Linked DNA regions of Homo sapiens: regions 2, 3, 4, 5 and 6 are each linked to region 1. The links are contacts of gene promoters, found by promoter capture Hi-C in blood cells and fetal thymus (Javierre and others, 2016). All regions are on one chromosome and are shown on one strand. The core of a region is centred on a gene start or on the middle of the fragment in contact, and the rest is flanking DNA. Distances in the headings are between cores, read along the strand shown.

Region 1 (3,180 bases), core at 357-2,856:
GGGCCTGCATTTCCCTTGTGCCCTTCTCTCCACCCAGCCCTCAGGACTGCCTGGGCTGCATTTTGTCCAGAATCCTTTGTCTCCTTACTTGCACTGCAGCTGAGGCGAGTGTCCCTTGTTCCGGGTGGCTCCTGTATTGTGGCGCTCATGTTATTGAGAGTCTTAGAGGTCACCCCCTAGATTCACCAATTGAAGGGCAGGGCTTGTCGATCTAACAGTGTCTTGCACATAGGGACACAAATGTCTGTTAAATGAAGAAAGTAGGGATGCCAGGCCACCCAATGGGGTGTATCTCCTAGGGTTCAAGAACAAGGGCTAATCAAGTCAAGAGAATGTGTGCCCTCCCCCACCATCTCACCCCTCACTCTCAGAACACTTGGGGCCCCTGCACAGGTGGTAGGCATGCTGGCCCTGAGTGCCCTCCCAGCCTGTGTTAGAAGAACCAGTGGATGACCTCGCTGTCAGCTGTCTCCCCTTCTCTGAGCTTACTGCAGGTGGCAGCAGCCTCTCAGCCACAGACTGTTCCCTTTCCTAGGAGAAAACGATGGTCACTCAGCAATGCTGTGCGCTTGCAGCTTCCACCACAAAAGAGACAGCTGTGGCCGCAGCACCAGGGTGGTGATTCTTCCCCCTCCAAGGGCAGTGGTGCATTCCTTAGCACAAGTATAAATTTACTGTTGCTAAGAGTTCTCGGAACAGGATAATACAAGAAGGAACCACTGCAAGTGAAATCCAGCCACCAGTAATGCCGAGAGGCCAGGCCTGTGCCTCCCAAAACCTGCTCCTCCGCAGGCTTCCCCGGCCCATCTCCAGAGCGCCCTCCTCTCACCACTTTACATAAACGAATGTACCCAAGATCCCCCATCAGTTTTCCATGCAGCTGCCAGAGTGCCACCAAAGCAAACCTCATCTCAAGACTCTGTGGCCAGGCCCTCACAACCTCCTGCCAGGCTCTCGCTACCTACCCATCAACAGCAAGACTCCCAGGCCATCTCAATCCCCCCAAAGAGCCCTGTTCCTCCAGCCCCACGGCTTCTGTTCACCTGCCGTGCTGTCCCCGCCTCTGCCCACCCACTCATCCTGCAGATCTGGAGCAGCATTCCAGGGCCTGGTAAGTGTGCGCCATTTTGGGTTACTACGGGTCTCGCCAGGCGCGGTGGCGAGTTTTGCCCCCCACGCTCCCCAGCGCCTGCACCTGGGCGGAGAGGTAGATAAGGCTGGGAGATCTTAGCCTTTTGCAAGGCAAACACCAGGCAGGAACGCCCAGAACCTCGGAGGAGGAGGAGGGGAAGATCCCCAGGTGGAGACCAAGGTGCCCCTCACGCTGAGTCGTCTAGGAGACCCTCCCTAGTTTAAAAAGTGTTTATTTGCTCGGAGAACATTTCAGGAGGCCTTCCTGGGACCCCAAGTGTGCCGCCCCCCGGGAGGGGCCTGGAGACGCCCGCGCGGCCCCCCTGCAAAGTTTTACCGGCCCTGGGCGCCCCCGGCCCTGGCACCCACGCGGGGAGCCGCAGTGGGCCGGGCCGCGCGGCCGCCGCCTCCCACCGCTCCCGCGCCCGCTCCCGCCCCCGGCGCGTCTCCTCCGGGCCCGCGCCGCGGCGGGCTCAGTCCTCAGCGGGGCGCGTGGCGAGCGGACTCGACTCGGCACCGCTGTGCACCATGGCCCGGGCCCTGTGCCGCCTCCCGCGGCGCGGCCTCTGGCTGCTCCTGGGTGAGTAGGTCCAGGGGTCCCGGCCGAGCTCCCTTCCCCTGGCCAGCCGGTGTCCTCTAGGGGAGAGGAGGGGAGCGGGTGGGAGCGGGTGGGAGCGGGTGGGGGCGGGCGCCGCGGGCGCACAGATCCGCTGCCCTTGAACGCGGGCCGCCCCGGTTCCAGGCGGGAGGCCCCAGGGCACAGGGGAGGCGGAGGGCGCGGACCGGTGTTGCGCTTCTCGCCGGGGAAGGGACGGCTTTGGGGACGTCGGAGAGCGGGCATTCTGGAAAGCGTGGGGTGAGTCAGCCCTGCACACTGGAGAACTAGTTTTCAGAAGGAAAAACAGGACGCGGGGTTCCCCAGCCCCGCACCTCGTTTCTCAGGCTGTGCGCCGCGGTGACTGCCAGCGCAGGCTCCCTTCCCTAGGCCGTCCCGCGTTGCAAAACCTGCAGACGGGCACCTTGCAGAAGACGCAGTGTTCGGGAATCAGAACCACAGCCGGTTTGTATGGAAATTAGTCAACACTGACAATCTGTCGCCTGCAGCAGTTGCTTGTTTGCAAATCACGTCTTTTGCAGAAATGAGGCCAGCCCTTTTCGGGACACTTCCATCGCTTTTTTTCTTTTTTCTTTTGGTTTGCTTGTTAACTTGGCACTTTTGGCTAATAGAAATTTAAAGAAGGACGGGTCCCTTGGTGAAGTGGTGGAACACGTTTGGCTTTCCACTTGGAGGGAGAAGTGGAGATTAGCGGCAGCCTCATGGCCACAGGAACTGGCCACACACTCGGCAAGAAACGGTGCTGTTCACTTCCCTTGTCTGTAATGTGTTCCTAAAATGCTAACTCAAGCCCCTTCTAAACCGCTTTGGCTATTGCATTATTCCGTGTATTTAGCTACCTTTTAACGGAAACTGTGAATAGGTTACTGGCGTGGGAGAACCCAGTGTCCCTGGGAAGGCCGGAGCAGTTGTTTCTGGTATGTGTGGCCTTTCCCCGGAAACAGTGATGTTGGTCAGAGGCACCTGCCGCACAAGACCTCTTTGGCGCTGGCACTGGGCAAGCAGGGACCACCGGCGCTGTTGTAGCTGGGGGAGTGGTTCGTGGCCCAGCGAGGAGAGGGGCCAGGGCTTCTTGGGAGCCATGGATTTCTGTTCCCTATTTGTAAACCTCTCCAAGGGGTGGCAGATCTGCATAGAATCCTCAGAGGCCGATATAATATAATCTGAAAGCGGATCTTGCCACTTTAGAGTTTTGGCTGAAGTTACGTGGAAAGCAGAATCTCGCAGTAATTTTATTCTCTCCATTTGGCTTGACATGGCCTTCACTGTTTTCATTTACTAAGAAACAAACATTTCTTTGTTAGCAAGGCAGAGAGCTGGGTTGTGGAATATTTTTTACATAAATAACCAAATAAATAAACGTTCTTTACTAGTGTCCAGAGGCTGAACCCTCTAAAGCTTGTGTAAATAAAACACTATGTCACGATCACATA
Region 2 (3,180 bases), core at 312-2,811, 240 kb after region 1:
AATCCAAGTATTTATAACTCATTGTCAGCCAAATGCTATCATGAACGTAGGAAACTTGATTTTTTTGTTTTGATCATGGCCTCTACATGCACCTTTCCAGAGTGGTCTCTTCTCAGGCCCTTTTTAGTCCCTTTCCAAAGCTGCCCCCACCACCCTGCTCCTCTGGCCTCAGTGCACAGTGGCCCCCAGCCTCGGCCAGGCCTGCTCTGCTCAGCGCCCACCGCCCACCACCCCTCCTGCTTCCCCGAGCCTGACCCTGTTCCGCCCACTGGCAATCAGGGCTGCGCACTTCCCTGTCCACGGTCCCCAGGCCTTCCTGTCTTGTCCCTTTTGATCATTATTAACTCAGGGTTTCAGCTCCAACCTCGCTGAGTTGGTGCAGCTCCAGGTCATTCCTGGGGTGGGAATCGGATCATCCCTGACTCAGCTTTTACCTTAATTTTATTTGCAGAGGATTCTTTTCTCAAAATGCTCTGGCATTTGGACACACATCACATGTCGATATTTGCATAGGAGTCATTTTCAGTGGAATAACATTTTTAATGTGTGGTTTTACGGTTCAAGGAACTACTTGATGATTTTGAGGAAACACTTGCCAGAAACTAAATTAACGAATAAAAGATTTCAGTGCCCGACTTGGGGATCCTGTGGTTTCTCTAGTGGGCACTGCGCTTGGGCACAAAGTCATCTGACAGAGCCTGTCGGGGGGAAGCCAGGGGTGCAGCAGCCCCCAGGTCACCATTGTGTGATGATGCGTTAGCCCAGAAATCCAGCTTGAGGCTGTGTCTCCGGAAGCCCCTACAAATGTAATGGGTCCCCCATCTGCAGCTTCCCATTGCTGCCAGGAAGAGGCTGTGGTGGTCCTGACTTCCCTAAAGAAGAACTATGGATTGTCCAGAACAATCTGGAAAGGGGTTAAATGTACTTGGGCCCTTGGGGCTGCAGCCCAGAGACTTGGTCCGTGTAGTTGGAGAGGGGGCCGAGGCAGGGGCTGACACCTTCTCGCCTCAGAGGCCTGGACACACCCAAGTCAGGGTCCTGAGCCCATTGCAGGCCCCGTGGAGCCACTGTGTCCCCAGAGATTCCTAGGAGCCTCCAGGGCCGAGGGCCGGGACCCAGAGGCGGGGCGCTCAGCTCTGTGGGTGTCAACACAGCCAAACATGTAGACCTACTGGGCACCCTTTACTTCAGACACACTGTGGTGGCGGCTGGGGGTCTGCCCTTCTGTGAGAGTTGGGGGAACTGTCTCCCAGGCCACTCGGGGCTCCTGTGAGAAGCTCAGTGGCGTGTATCCTCAGCCCTCGCTCCACAGATGAAGTTCCTGCCATCTGGACAGATCTGAGCAGCCTCAGGGCCAGCCTCCTTTCTCTGCTGGCCATACCCAGCCCTGACCTAGCCTGGTGTGGGCCTTTCCCTGTGCCCTGTACTCCATCCTCCCAGCTCCAGGCACCTGGCACCCTCACACTGTGGGAGTGGCTTGGGCAGGTCCTCAAGGCCTGTCCCCCCACCCGACCCCACCCCACCGCCTCCCATCTGCCCTGTGGCAGCTTATCGGGTAACCAGAGCCGGCAGCTTCATCCACGTCTGAAACAGGAAGCCCCAGCCTGTGCATGAGTCGCCACTGAGAGCCCGGGCCAGAGGATGGAGAAGCAGCGGGCACTCGTGGCCGCCAAGGATGGGGATGTGGCGACGTTGGAGCGGCTGCTGGAGGCTGGCGCCCTGGGCCCGGGCATCACCGATGCTCTGGGGGCCGGCCTGGTTCACCACGCCACCCGGGCTGGCCACCTGGACTGCGTCAAGTTCTTGGTGCAGCGGGCCCAGCTGCCCGGCAACCAGCGGGCCCACAACGGGGCCACCCCAGCGCATGACGCCGCTGCCACGGGCAGCCTGGCCGAGCTGTGCTGGCTGGTCCGCGAGGGGGGCTGCGGTCTGCAGGTGAGCGGGGATGGGGCAGCCTGGCTCCACGAAGCTGGCTGGGGTGGAACCAGGGAGGTGTGAGCCACGGAGGATCAGAGTACTGGCCACCCCGGGCTCCATGGCCCTGGGCCCTTTGTTTCTCTTGGGGACTCAGTCAGTGGTTACCGTCTCTGCCCCACGCCTCTCAGAGCACAAAGGCTTGAGAGCCAAGAACACCTCCTAAATTTTCTTATCACCTTCCCTGCCAGGAAGCTGGGCGTTGCCAGTGGGGGTCTTGCCAGATATCAGGACCCCTGTCTCTGATCAGGCCTGGTCCACAGGGCCTGCCTCCCAAAGGGTCTAGAAAGGGATCCTTACAGAAGCACTGTGGGAACTTGGGCTTGAGAGCTGGGAGCCTAGCCCTGGGGGACGGGAGTTAGGGCTGCTGATGGTGATCGTCTTGTCCGGATCGTTTCTACTGGGCCCCCCTCCCCTATCCTGCCTGCCCAGTCCCCTTTGTGCAGGCGAGGCCCTTAGAGCTGTCGCTCAGCCCTGTGGAGCTTTCAGGGCTGAGGGTGAGCAGGACTGACCGGCCTTAGAACGCCGCCGCCCAGAGGTCAGAGTTGAGGTGGGGGCCGGTGGGGCCTGCTTAGACTGCGGAGCGGGAAGGTTCCCCAGCACCTGGCTCGCCAGAGCACCTGAGAGTCCCGGCCCAGCATCCTGTTCCTGTCGGCCCTTCCGCCAAACCCAAGGGCAGCAGGCGGGAGCTGTGCCTGCCTGGGGATCCATTCTGACAGGGCCCTTGGAGAAGGCCCAGGTCTGCTGGACCCCTGACACCTGTGGTAGGAACGCTCCCTGGCCCCGGGACCCTGTGGCCAGCGGGAGGGCACTGGGGCAGGGGACCAGCCAGAGGTAGGTGTCCTGGGAAGCCTTTCTGACCATGAGCAGAGTGGGCAGGTGTCTGCGGGCACCCGACTGCGTGGGAAAGGGCCTTCTCCACACTGGGGACGGGCCCAGGAGAGGGCAGGGTTGCCAGAGGTGGCCTCCCAAGACCTGGACCTGAGTCCTGGCCCTCCTCTCACCTCAGTCCCAGCAGGGAGCACCTCCCTCCATGTTGCAGGCAGAAACGGAGGGAAGGAGGAAGGAGCTGGAAGCCCCTTCACTGGGTTGCAGGCAGTGTGAGCCCTCGCCCAGGGCCCACCTCCGGCAGCTGGCTCTGACCTCACGGCCTACCCCCCACTCACTGACCTACCCGGGGCTTGGTAGGACCAAGATGCCTCGGGC
Region 3 (3,180 bases), core at 218-2,717, 220 kb after region 1:
ATTCATAAGAGGTATTAGTCTGTAGTTTTCTTGTGGTGTCTTTGTCTAGTTTAGTGTCAGGGTAAAATTTGCCCCATATAAATCATGGGAAGTGTTCCCTCCTGTTCTGTTTTTTGGAAGGGTTTGTGAAGACTTGGTTTTAATTCATCTTTAAATATTTGATAGAGTTTGCCAATGACAACATCTGGGCCTGGGCTTCTCTTTGTGGAGAATTTTTAAGTTACTGATTCAGTCTCTTTACTTTTTATAGGTTTGTTCAGGCTCTATCTCTTTTGAGTCATTTTCAGTTGTTTGTGTCCTTCTAGGAATTTGTGCATTTCATTTGTTATCTAATTTTATTGGCATACCATTGTTTATAGTAGTCTCTGGTAATCTTTTTTTATTTCTGTAAGATTTATAGATCCCTTTCATTCATGATTTTAGTAATTTTATTCTTTTTCTCTGTCTTGTTCAATTTAGCTAAAGATTTATCTTTTTAAAAACTCTTTTTAAAGAACTAACTTTTGATTTTCCTGTGTTATTTTTGTAGTCTCTATTTTATTGACTTCTACACTAACCTTTATTAACCCATTTATGCCGGAGGTTGCAAGTTTTTTTGTGTGAAAAATCAGACCTTGGCAATAACCTTGAGCAGTAGGATATAAATAACTCCCACAAGCTTAGCGTTCCAATAATGGAACACCAGGCATAAATGGGTTCTTTCTTTCTACTTGTTTTAGGTTTGATTTGTTCCTTTTTTTTTTTTTTTTTACAGTGTCTTAAGGTGGAAGATTAGTTATGATTTGTATTTTTTTTTTTTTTGAGACAGAGTCTTATTGCCCAGGCTGAAGTACGGTGACACAATCTCAGCTTACTGCAACCTCCACCTCCCAGATTTTAGCAGTTCTTGTGCCTCAACCTCCCAAGTAACTGGGATTACAGACATGCACCACCACATCTGGCTAATTTTTGTACTTTTAATAGAGACGGGGTTTTGCCATGTTGGCTGGGCTTGTCTCGAACTCCTGAACTCAAGTGACCCACCCACCTTGGCCTCCAAAAGTGCTGGGATTACAGGTGTGAGCCACCACACCCAGACGTTTTTTCTTTTTTAATGTAGGCATTTAAAGACATAAATTTCCCTCTAAGCACTGCTTTAACTACATTCCACATGTTTTAGTATGTTGTGTCTTCATTTTCATTCATCTCAAAGTATTTTCTAGTCTCCCTTGTGGTTTTTTTTTTCTATGACCCATTAGATATTTAAGAGTGTATTGTTCTGCGGAAGGCCGCAGGGTCCTCTGCCTAGGAAAACCAGAGACCTTTGTTCACTTGTTTATCTGCTGACCTTCCCTCCACTATTGTCCCATGACCCTGCCAAATCCCCCTCGGTGAGAAACACCCAAGAATTATCAATAAAAAAATAAATTAAAAAAAAAAAAAAAAGAGTGTATTGTTTAATTTCCATATGTTTTTTAATTTCTAAGATTTCTTTCTGCTAATGATTTCTAATTTTCTTCCATAAGAGCTAGAAAATACTTTGATTTAAATTCTTTAATTTTTTTTATTTTGTGGCCTAGGATGTATGTAGACATATATCCTAGAGTATATGTCAAGTGCACTGGAGGATAATGTATATTCTGCTGTTGTTGGGTGGAGTGTCTTGTAGATGTCTGTTAGGTCTACTTAATTTGTAGTGTTATTCAAGTCTTCTGTTCCCTTGTTAAAATTCTGCCTAGTTGTTGTATCCATTATTGAAAATGTGATTTTGAATGATCCCAGTATTATTAATCAGTGGTCTGATTAATAGTTGATCACACTATTAATCAGTTTCTCCCTTCAAACCTGTCAGTTTTTGCTTCGTGTATTTTGGTGCTCTATTGTTAGGTGCACATACATTTATATTTGTTATATATTATGGATGAACTGGTTCTTTTATCATTATAAAATGTCCAACTATATTGCTGGTAACTTTTTAAATCCCTTTTATTTTATGTAAGTATAGTCATTCCAACTGTCTTATGGTTGCTGCTAGCATAAATATCTTTTTCCATCCTTTTACTTTTAATCCATTTATGTCTTTAAATCTGACATGTTGTAATACACTGTTAGAGACATATTGTGGCTATAAGATTAATGATAGCCGTAAGGCCCATGCAAACATCTTGCAGGGCTGACACTATGTGTCAATTAGCAGTATGATGCAACATGGTCTAGGGATTTCCAACCCTGGCTTGGGAATTTCCAGGAGGTAAGACCACCTCAGCATAGATGGAACTCTCATAAACCATAAATACAAAGCTTTCCCTTACCAAAATAGCTTAACTCCCTTATGGAAGAAAAACCTGGTAACTGACCTGGACTAAATACAAGATAAGAAAGGGGAAGAATCCCCAAAACTCTGAGAATGTTCTCTGGACAGAGACTTTCCCGGCCAGGCAGTCATCTGATACCTGAATGTATCTGACCCTTGCCACCTGCCTGCTCCTGCTAGCTATCTTGTAAGAGCACTGCCAGAATAAACTGCTTGAACATCACACAGCATCTAAGACTTATCTTTGATGTGAATAATAGGAAAAGGGAAAAGTCACCTTTGGGGAAGGTTAACTAGGCCCAGCCCAAGATCCCTGAACAAGACACATGGGTCTCCTGTAGATTCTCTTTTTTTTTTTTTTTTTAGACGGAATCTCGCTCTGTTGCCCAGGCTATGGAGTGCAGTGGCACGATCTTGGCTCACTGCCACCTACGCCTCCCAGGTTCAAGCTATTCTCCTGCCTCAGCCTCCCGAGTAGCTGGTACTACAGGCACCTGCCACCATGGCTGGCTAATTTTTGTATTTTTAGTAGAGACGGGGTTTCACCATGTTGGCCAGGCTGACCTTGAACTCCTGATCTCAGGTGATCCATCTACCTTGGCCTCCCAAAGTGCTAGGATTACAGGCTTGAGCCACTGCACCCGGCCAGTTCTTTTTAAATCTAGTCTGACAGCCTCTGCCTTTTTATTAGATTGTTTAATCATTCACACTTAATGTTACTATTGACATAGTTGGAGTACCACCTATTTTCACTTTTTGTTTCCTAGATGTCTCATATATTTTTTGTTCTCTTTTCCCCCTTTACCGTTTTCTTTTGCATTAACGAATATTTTCTAATTTAACATCAAAATTCTTTAGTGCTTTTTTCACTTTTTAAATTAGTTATT
Region 4 (3,180 bases), core at 477-2,976, 180 kb after region 1:
TAATGAACTCAAAATTGAGGCCAGAGCTTGCTTTCCCTTTTCCCAAACAAAATTGGTTTTCTGCACAAGCGATGCTAATGATGTGTTCAGTGTAACTCGCAGATTGGCAATAAGATACCCGCTACAAACTGTGATTGGATGCAAAATCTCTTAGCTTCTTTCACGAATGTTGGCCCTGCCTAGATGTTGTGAAGCCTCCCAGAATGCATAGAGTCATTCACTGTAGATCTCTTATTGAAATGCGTATTTTATTTAATGTAAGTATATTTTGGAACAGATTTGTAATTTGTACAATTCAATGCTTTAATTATTTTTTCTATTCTCATTTAGTTTGTATTTTCATTGTATAGAGCAGACAGAAAGATGTTGGGTCAAGCAACTATTGAAGAGAAATACAAAGAAAATATGAAAGGCACATTATTCATTTTGTCCAAATGCAATGAGAATCTCACTCTTAAAAATCAGCTCTTGCTTTCGGGTCCGGATGTGGTGAGCACATTTTGGAGCCCTTTGAAGCTAGATTTGGATGATCAAAACAAAAAGGCAGGGAGCCCATTCTAACATGCTGCCCAGAGGAAACTGGCTGGAGCCTGGACCAGCTGGGGTTGATGCTTTTGCAGTGGTCATGTGATTGTGACCTGGTAGCTACTTATCAGAGAGCCAGACCCTGCTGTCCTGGGAGACAGGAGCGATGCCTCAGGAATCAGCCCAATGTCTGATGTCACTGAGACTGTACCTGTGGCCTTCTTCTGAGTTTGCTATGGCTCCAGGCCCTGCCGGTGGGGTGAGCCTCCTAGGCCTTGGAGGACCAGGAGTCAACAGTGGCATATGCCATCCTCGGCCAGGTTAATATACTGCAGAGGAAAAGCCCTGAAGAGAGGCAAGTGGATTTACTCCAGCATGTAGACATTTGAACCAGTGAAATCAAACACAAAATAAATGTCTGTCTAGTTTCATTTGCTGCCTGCCTAACACTCTCAAACTTAACTGCCAGCTTCCTTAGACCTCTGGATTCCCCCATCTGCCATCTACTGGGTTTAGTTTGTTTTTCTTAATTTATAGAATCTCTGATTGTGAGATCAGTCTGTCACGGAGACCCAGCAGGTGAGGAATGTAGGCCTTGCTTCCTCTTTGCACCCATTAGACTTGAGGGTGGCCCCTGGCTAACAGGCCACACAGAGCAGGAAGGGTGAGATTGGTTAAAGAGAATGATGGCATCTCAGGAGCTCAGGGCTTGTCCAGGAGACACATTAATCCCCACCTCTCAGGGCCTGGGAGAGGGAGGTACTGCAGCTTCACACTTTTCCTCTGCCTAGTGTCAGAGGAACTTGCCAGCTGAGCACTAGGCTTCCTCTCTAGGCAGGGCAGGAGGCCAGCAGCTAATTCCTGCCCCCTCTGACCCAGGAAATGAGGTTCTCTGCTTGGTGCCAGTCCCAGGCCCAAGTCAGGGCACATCCCATAGTAGTTGTTCGGGCTCCCTGGAGTTCCCCAGCTGGTGGTGCAGGTGTTGATGCAGGACTTTTCAGAAGAGCGCTTCTGTGGGAGAAACGCCTGCTGTCCAGTGGAAACGTTTATGCAGTGTACATGAAAGACAGTGTGCCCTCTGGACCACACTGAAAGTGGTAATATCAGTTATTCTGACATCAAAGTATCTGCACAGTAGAAAAACACTTTGCTCATTATCAGGGATTAAGCAATTCTTTCAAAATGTCCAGATAACTGAATCATCCCATTCTGTCTAGTGGAAATCCCCCAGAGATATGTTGCGCACACACACCCCATCTTAGGAGCACACTCAGATGCAGCCCATCGCAGTAAGCAGCAGCTGTTGTCCTGGGTGCTTGGCCAGTGGGGCCCTTGGGATCTGTTGGGTGACTGTGGGACCCAGTTTCCTTCCAGACTTTTTGAATTCTTAGCATTCCCCTCCCTCTTTCACAGGCCAAAGTCACATTTCTGGCTCCAGCGCATGTGCCCCCAACCAACCGGGTACTAGTTGGTGATTTCTGATCTGTCAGGGAATGGGAATCCCTATACTCGGCCAAAAGGCCAGTCCTGGAAATAGGTGAGAGTGGGCAGGCCCTTGGGGAAGTGAAGCTCTTGGGAAGCTCTGACATCCAGTTGGACATCCAGAACCTTTGCTTCCTGAATCCTGGTTCTTGGCTGGACTCCAGAGGGTCCTTATGACTATTGCTTAGAATTTGATGCATAAGCTGTATGTTTTTCAAGCACTCCTAGAAGGAAACACTTCCAGGGTAAGCCTCTCAGAGGAAGGCTCACATCTTACCTCTGATCTTCCCCTAAATAATCACCAGCAGGTGACCATCTCTTTGCAGCCTTTCTACTAAGGAGCCAAGGCAAGAGTATTACTCAGATATTGAAAATGGATCTCAGCTGTGCCCCTCGCCTTTTCTCCCACGACTCGTCATCTGTGATGTTTCCACCAGCTTTATTTGCAGAGCACAGACCACAGGGAGCCAGTGTCTTGGGTTAGGGTTGTCTTCACCTGCCCTCGTCTCCAGGCACGAGAGGCCTGAGAGGCTGCTCAGGAGCTAAAACATTGTGAATGTCCATTCTTGTAAAGGATCAGGTACCTTAGTATTCGGCAGTTTACATGATTCAAAGCACCTGTGCATGTTTTCCTCTTTCTCTAGTTACTTGCACACTTGTCTGGAAAGACCTTGTGGGGTGTAGAACACAACAGTGTTCATAGCTAGGCCAGTCTCAGCAGTGTCCTAGCCCATTCAGAGGCCATCTGGTGATAGACCCAGCATGTTTTTTTCTTATGGCAGCAGAAAGATTGAATAGCCTTTCTGCTGGATTCTAGACCCCCAAAAAAGAAAAATAAAATCCCAGTGGGCAAACTCCCAGGCGGTGGTGATCACTAAAATCTGTCACAGTCTTCAGTGAACAAACCCCACTTGCTGTTCCTGGGGTTGCTCTGCTGCCACTCCCCATCCCCGCTTATTTAAAGAACTGCTGTGAAAAATCAGTTCCAGTTTCTTCTGTAAAACCCACGGCACTACTGGTGCATTCTGAGTTACACTTGTTAAGTAGAACCTTCTTATTCCCTAAGAGATTTTCAAAATAAGTCACTTATTCCTGTTAACATCGCCCTTTTTGTCAATAATCAAATCAAGCAGGTTGTGTTTTTTTATGTAAGAATTCCAACAAGAAGATGTA
Region 5 (3,180 bases), core at 391-2,890, 160 kb after region 1:
AAAGAAATGGTTATAGATAGGGAAAAGCGAATGGAGACACAGTGGTGGGGGAAAAAGCAAATATAGGGAAAAGCACAACCCTACCTTAATGTGTCGCTTTGAGGTGGCTTTACCCTTATCAGTGCGTCACGGGTACTTTTGTCCCCTGGGAATGTCCACTCCTTGAGACAGTTCATTCTAGTACAGGGGGAGATGGGAGGTAGGCCTTTTTTTGCAGGGGGGAAGAAGGTTGTAGAAGAGGAGGTGGGACAGAGAGCTGGCATGACTCCTTGGCCTCAAGGGCGTTGTCCACAGATTTGTTACCAGACAGAGCATATGTGGATGTCGGCCATCTAGAATCTAGAAATGGATTCTGTCACAGTGATTTGAGGCGACATACCCCTTCAAAAGGTTTGTTTTCCCAGGGCTCTCGGTAATCTTGAAGACACTGGAGTATGGTTCCTCAAAGGTAGTGAGGAGTGGGCTCTAAAGCACAAGGAAAGAGGAGGATAATTCCTCTAATTGTAACAGTGGGGCAGGGGCCAGGCTGGCTGATTGAGAGCTGAGTGCCAGGAACTTCCCTCAGTTGCATTTCATTATTGTATTTTAAAACCTAGTTGTCTGAGAAATGTGTTTTCAGTCCCAGCAGCCATGGACGATAGTAACATAGAATTGGCCTGTCCTGGACTTGTGTACTGTGCTGTGGGCCACGGTGCACGTGTAGTTACAGACATTCTCAATGAGTCCACTACCTGCCGGCTGTGGAAGTGAGCAGGCCTTCCTTGAACCGTCTCCGCCTTGGGCCAGGTACTCCCAGAGCCAGGTGTAGAAGGTGAATCTGAACTCTTAAGCTGGGGACATCGTGAAGGAAACCTTGTAAATAAGAGATGCTCTTGGGTTTCATCTCAGTCCAGTCTGCTCCCAAGCTGCTTTTTAAGTTGGACTGTGGAATTTCTGGGCAAATTAACAATAATAAATAAGCAGATTTGGATCAGGTCTAAAAACTGTGCAACTTCAAAGAGGGAAAAAGAAGTACTGATGCAGGAGCAGATCATTTTCCTGAGAGAGATTTGTTTCATGAAAGAGAAAAAAATAAAACAGTCTGTTCTCACTTTTTAATGAGTTAAGAGAAGATATAATCCTAATAATTATTAAGGAAGAACTTGACTGGAGCAGAGGGAATAAGGTGAAGTGATAATCATATTAGACCAAATAACATCTTTGAAAGTGGTAGGCAATAGAGTTGAAACTCTGTAATCCATGAACTGGAAAGCCAACTAGAGAAAAAATATAGCATGGCAGGATGGAATGGCCAGAGCACAGCCACGACCAGGGTGTCTCGCATGGGTAGTAATCATTCCTAAGGGAAAGGAAAAGGACAGCGCGGGTGAAGCAGCATCATCCAAAAGCTGTGTAACAGTTCACAGAGTGGACTGCGTGGTTTGTAATGTTAAGCCTGGCATTGGATTTCTGTGTTGTGCCACAGTGGTCAATATCACAATACATGTAAGACACCAACATCCACACATGCTTTGATGAACAAGGATATGTACTCTGAGTATTTTATATCTAAGATGCCACTTATTTGAAAAGTTCTTATATCTGGAGTTAAAAATTTCCCCAAACAAGTATCTTTGCCAGAGACTTTATACTGCCAGTCAGAAATCCAAGTGTATTTATAAAAACTAGAAATACGCATCTCAAGTAAGTGGAGGAAGGCTAGAATAATAAACGCCGTTGGGGTGATTAAGCAACCAGTTAGGAAAAAAAATACGACCTTAGTCTGCAATCAGTTGATGAATGAATGAGCTGATTAAATGTAATCTATGAAACCATTAAATTACTAGAAGAAAATATAAGAGGATATTGATATAATCTTGGTTGGGAAAGGCCTTTTCTAAGCATGACCCCAAAGACAGAAACCCTAAAGAAAGATTAGCTTCTTAAAAATGGAAAACTAGTGTTCAGAAACCACAAAATCAAAATGCAAACAGCAGACTAAGAAAAATTGCTTGTAGCCTATTTAAAAAGCAAAGGCTAATTAAGAGATTTTTGTATTGGTAATTAAAAGATGAATACCTCAGTAATAAAAGGAGAGTTTCAGAACATTGATCATTCAGTTCTTAAAAGAAAAACCTAAATGACCAATAATCATATAAATTTTAGCCTCACTAGTATTCATCAGAGAATGTAAAATAAAAGAGAACTGGTATTTCTCTTCTATCAAATTGGCAAAGAAAAAAAATGTTAGGGTCCAGGTAATGCCAGTTTTAACTACTAGATGACATAAATGTTGATACGGTCTCAACTCTTAAGGAATGGAATTTTTTTTTAATGATGACTTGTTTGAGGCTAACAACTTGCTGTTATGCATTCATTTCATATAAAAATTTGAGGAAAATGATAAGATTTAATATTACTGGTTTGTTCATGATGATAAATATTTTAGGGGAAGTTGAATTTTAATTTTAAAATGGTGCTAATTCTGTCAAATTTGAAAATTGAGAATAATTTATTTCCAGTGGCTTTTCCAAGCTCATTCATGCTGAAGTGCCCTCTGCTGGCACCAGCAGCCACTTAGTGACCCCAGGCTGGGTACCACCTGAGGAGAGGGACTGCCCTGTGGGGTCTACAGGGTGTGGGGGGCGGGGTAAAGAGGGAGTGGGGGTACACAGCATGTGGATGGCAATGTGGTGATGCTCAGACCCTGGGCTTCCTCCTTCGTGCCTACCAGCCCGCGTTTCTAGAAGGCCTGCTCTGTTCTGAAGGCTGCATCAAGCAATCACTGAGGCAGTGATTCTGTCAGGTTCACTGCTGTGTCCCCAAGGCCTAGAACCATGCCCAGCAGAGGTTGGGTGCTCAGTAAGGGTTTGTTGGTGACTGTTAGTCTTGTGTCCTCCAATTGACATTCTCTTGGGGAGACCAGCAGTAAGCAGATAAAGAAGTCACTTAAGGCATGAGATGTGTTCGGAGGGTTGTAGGTTCCAGGAACATGGTAGGATGCAAGGAGGCCAGGCAGATGGCCCCAGAAGGATGTCCCTTCCCTTCCCTGAGGGTGTGCTCAGCCCCCTGAGAAGACAGACAGGCAGGTGACAGCATGGAGCCCATTTCTGTTCAGGCAGGGGCAGGACTTCCACCAGTGTGTGTGCATTTGGTGATGGAACCGAGGAACTCTGCAGGCCTGTTTTTAAACTCCTGATT
Region 6 (3,180 bases), core at 481-2,980, 130 kb after region 1:
CAAGTTTTTAGCGGTTTCTCTGCAAAAAAATTTAAAATGTTTCTTTCAGATAGACTGAAATATTAGAGGCTCAGATAGTGCATGCCTACATGTAGATAAAAAGCTTAATTCTGGTGCATTGAACTGGAACAAAAACCTGTTAAATTTTTTTTTTTTTTTAGAACTTAACCTTTCTTTTCTTTTCTTTCTTTCTTTTTTTTTTTTTGAGACAGTCTTGCTCTGTCACCCAGGCTGGAATGCAGTGGCGCGATCTCGGCTCACTGCGACCTCCACTTCCTGGATTCAAGTGACTTTCCTGCCTCAGCCTCCTGAGTAGCTGGGATTACAGGTGCCCGCCACCACGCCTAGCCAATTTTTGTATTTTTAGTGGAGATGGGGTTTTGCCAGGATTACAGGCGTGAGCCGCTGCGCCTGGCATAGTTTTATTGCTTTGTAATCCACTTTGATAATTTCTTTTTTTTTTTTTGAGACAGAGTCACGTTCTTTCACCCAGGCTGAAGTGAAGTGGCACGATCTCAGCTCTCTGCAACCTCTGCCCCCGGGTTCAAGCAGTTCTCCTGCCTCAGCCTCCCCCTCAGCTGGGATTACAGGCATGCGCCATTACATCCGGCTAATTTTTTGTATTTTTAGTAGAGAGGGGGTTTTACCATGTTGGCCAGGCTAGTCTTGAACTCCTAACCTCTGGTGATCCACCTGCCTTGGCCTCCCAAAGTGCTAGGATTACAGGCATGAGCCACTGCGACCGGCCGATAATTTCTTTATTCTTGATGGGCCAGCTTTTTGGAGCTATTGATTTCCGCATCTGTCTATTAAAACAAAAGAGAATGCCAGATATTAAAAACAAATACATGATGCCAACTTCAGTGAATCATTGAAACATTTCCCAAGTCAGAATTATATGTTTTTGTTACTTAGAACTCACTAGAAGGATGGCATTTATCTTTGCAAGTTAAGATTAGGAAGAATAAAGCCCATTTTAAGTATTTCACACATAGTTCTAAATGTGTAATTTTGGGGAAAGTCTTGAACTCTTTGGCTCCAGTTTGTTTATTTCTCAAGTAAGGACTGTGACATTGTCATCTCTAAGACTGCTTCTTGCTTTTCTAGACAGTTTTCACTCTGGAAAGGAAACCCCACTATCAGTCCTGTGTTATTTGCTGCTTGTATATACAGGTGTCCCATGTCTTAACATGGTCATTAAGTACTGAAAGGAAATGAGGCATGAGGTAGGGGAAGGAGTCATGAACTAGTTATTAATGTAGGAATTAACCTTGCTTCTGTTGATAACCTGTATGATCTTGGGCTAGTCACCAAGCCTCTCTAGACCTTCTACTTATGTCTCCTAATTGAGGACGTTGGACTAGATCGTCTCTAAGGTCACCTCTGAGTAGAAATTTGAATTGTCCTGTTTTCGATAAAAATTTTTATCATTGTCAAACTAAGCAAATACTTTTGGTGGAACTTGTAAGAAAACTTTAAACAAATTTTTAAAAAGTCTTCTAAAAAAACTTTAAAAACTTAAAAAGACAAAATATCATAGTAAATTCTGGGTGGGAGCTAACTCCTGGGCAGCACTCTTTTTTTTTTTCAGATGGAGTCTCGCTTTGTTGCCCAGGCTGGAGGGCAGTGGCGTGATCTCAGCTCACTGCAACCTCTGCCTCCCAGGTTCAGGCAATTCTCCTGCCTCAGCCTCCCAAGTAGCTGGGACTACAGGCGCCCGCCACCTTGCCCAGCTAATTTTTGTATTTTTAGTAGAGACGGGGTTTCACCACGTTGGCCAGGCTGGTCTCAAACTACTGACCTCGTGAACCGCCTGCCTTGGCCTCCCAAAGTTCTGGGATTACAGACATGATCCACCATGCCTGGCCAGCACTCTTCTTTTTAACTTCCATTTGCCGTGGTGACTGTGGATGTCTGTGGTGCTAAGAGAACAGAGTAGAAATTTGACCTGGGTTTTTCCTGGTTTTTCCATGTTTAGTTCACCACCAGTGGTGAACTGAGAAGTTTAGCATAGGCCTGGTGTGGTGGCCCATGCCTGTAATCCTAGCACTTTCAGAGGCCAAGGTGAGTGGATCACTTGAGCATGGGAGTTCAAGACTAGCCTGGGTAACATGGCGAAAACCTGTCTCTACAAAAGATACAAAAATTAGCCAGGTGTGGTGGTGTGCACCTGTAGTCCCTGCTACTCAGGAGGCTGAGGTGGGAGGATCACCTGAGCCTTGGAGGCAGAGGTTGCGGTGAGCTGGAATCATGCCACTGTCCTCCAGTCCAGGCAACAGAGTGAGACCCTGTCTAAAAAAAAGTTTAGCATAGTATTTTCTGATTTTATAGATGTAGAAAATTTCTATATATATTCCTTCCAGATTCCTTGGGTATTTTTCCTATGGGTAATTAGCTGTGTGTCATTTGTTTGAAGGAGATGGGTGGGATGCAATCAACTTCCCTGGCCTGCACCAGCAGCCAGTAGCTTCTCTCCCAGGGGAACACTTTGTCCTGATTCAGGCCTCTTATGATTTGGACCAGTGGGCACAGAACATTGCCATCTGGGTCAGTAGAGCATTATTTTACCAATAAAGCAAGCTGATTTACCACTTAGGTAGTAAAGGTATTTTTTAAAAAGACAAAAGATTATGGTAAACTCTGGCTGGGTGGGAGCTAAGTCCTGGGCGCACTCTTCTTCTTCTTCTTCTTCTTTTTTTTTTTTTTTTTTGAGGCAGAGTTTCACTCTTGTTGCCCAAGCTGGAGTGCAATGGCGCGATCTTGGCTCACTGCAACCTCCATCTCCTGGGTTCAAGTGATTCTCCTGCCTCAGCCTCCCAAGTAGCTGGGATTACAGGCGTAAGCCACCATGCCTGGCCAGCACCCTTCTTTATAAAGAACTTCCATTTACCATGGTGACTGAATGTCTGTGGTGCTAGGGCAACAGAGTTGACCTGGGCTCTTTCCTGGTTTTTTCGTGTTTAGTTAGCCTTTGCCTGCATGTATTAATCTCCCTGAGATATGGTTTCTTCTTGTCAAAGTACAGTAGCATAATTCTTGAAATAAATGGTTTAGTGACCACTTAAAGGTTGAAGGAAAACATCTCTATTTGGAATTAACTAGTAAAACACTGTAAGGAGAAAAGCACATGACAAAAACCACTGGTTTGCAATTTTAGAGTATTGGCACGATTATTATCAG

Evidence for each region. Contacts are between HindIII fragments. The CHiCAGO score rates a contact against its expected background, and 5 or more counts as called.
Region 2: the fragment with the promoter of ESPNL here is called in contact with the fragment with the promoter of RAMP1 in region 1 in 10 of 17 cell types (megakaryocytes, endothelial precursors, M0 macrophages and 7 more); the score reaches 17.1 in megakaryocytes.
Region 3: a fragment that was not itself captured here is called in contact with the fragment with the promoter of RAMP1 in region 1 in 5 of 17 cell types (megakaryocytes, endothelial precursors, erythroblasts and 2 more); the score reaches 8.6 in megakaryocytes.
Region 4: a contact is called between a fragment that was not itself captured here and the fragment with the promoter of RAMP1 in region 1, in 3 of 17 cell types (megakaryocytes, M0 macrophages and M1 macrophages). The highest score is 6.5, in megakaryocytes.
Region 5: a fragment that was not itself captured here is called in contact with the fragment with the promoter of RAMP1 in region 1 in 9 of 17 cell types (megakaryocytes, M2 macrophages, M0 macrophages and 6 more); the score reaches 21.0 in megakaryocytes.
Region 6: a contact is called between a fragment that was not itself captured here and the fragment with the promoter of RAMP1 in region 1, in 4 of 17 cell types (megakaryocytes, M1 macrophages, M2 macrophages and 1 more). The highest score is 10.3, in megakaryocytes.

What each region holds. Positions count from the first base shown.
Region 1 is chr2:237,858,017-237,861,196 of GRCh38, forward strand. RAMP1 (receptor activity modifying protein 1) reads left to right here and starts at 1,607. Exons shown (of 3, transcript NM_005855.4): 1 at 1,607-1,711. The coding sequence starts at 1,660. RefSeq lists enhancers at 1-207, 208-994. The HindIII fragment of the contact is 3,458 bases long and covers 1-3,143 here.
Region 2 is chr2:238,098,779-238,101,958 of GRCh38, forward strand. ESPNL (espin like) reads left to right here and starts at 1,562. Exons shown (of 9, transcript NM_194312.4): 1 at 1,562-1,935; 2 at 3,163-3,180. The coding sequence starts at 1,642. SCLY (selenocysteine lyase) reads left to right here. Exons shown (of 12, transcript NM_016510.7): 12 at 1-635. UBE2F-SCLY (UBE2F-SCLY readthrough (NMD candidate)) reads left to right here. Exons shown (of 19, transcript NR_037904.1): 19 at 1-635. RefSeq lists enhancers at 1-75, 1-4. The HindIII fragment of the contact is 15,429 bases long and covers 1-3,180 here.
Region 3 is chr2:238,075,314-238,078,493 of GRCh38, forward strand. All of the region lies in intron 4 of SCLY (selenocysteine lyase), which reads left to right. All of the region lies in intron 11 of UBE2F-SCLY (UBE2F-SCLY readthrough (NMD candidate)), which reads left to right. Among named protein-coding and RNA genes, the nearest start is that of SCLY, 16 kb to the left of the region's middle. The HindIII fragment of the contact is 1,622 bases long and covers 657-2,278 here.
Region 4 is chr2:238,041,640-238,044,819 of GRCh38, forward strand. UBE2F (ubiquitin conjugating enzyme E2 F (putative)) reads left to right here. Exons shown (of 10, transcript NM_080678.3): 10 at 1-1,143. The region is part of intron 7 of UBE2F-SCLY (UBE2F-SCLY readthrough (NMD candidate)); the gene reads left to right. Among named protein-coding and RNA genes, the nearest start is that of SCLY, 18 kb to the right of the region's middle. RefSeq lists a silencer at 1,069-1,261. The HindIII fragment of the contact is 6,960 bases long and covers 1-3,180 here.
Region 5 is chr2:238,013,289-238,016,468 of GRCh38, forward strand. The region is part of intron 4 of UBE2F (ubiquitin conjugating enzyme E2 F (putative)); the gene reads left to right. The region is part of intron 4 of UBE2F-SCLY (UBE2F-SCLY readthrough (NMD candidate)); the gene reads left to right. Among named protein-coding and RNA genes, the nearest start is that of SCLY, 46 kb to the right of the region's middle. The HindIII fragment of the contact is 4,730 bases long and covers 1-3,180 here.
Region 6 is chr2:237,991,418-237,994,597 of GRCh38, forward strand. All of the region lies in intron 3 of UBE2F (ubiquitin conjugating enzyme E2 F (putative)), which reads left to right. The region is part of intron 3 of UBE2F-SCLY (UBE2F-SCLY readthrough (NMD candidate)); the gene reads left to right. Among named protein-coding and RNA genes, the nearest start is that of UBE2F, 26 kb to the left of the region's middle. The HindIII fragment of the contact is 3,258 bases long and covers 102-3,180 here.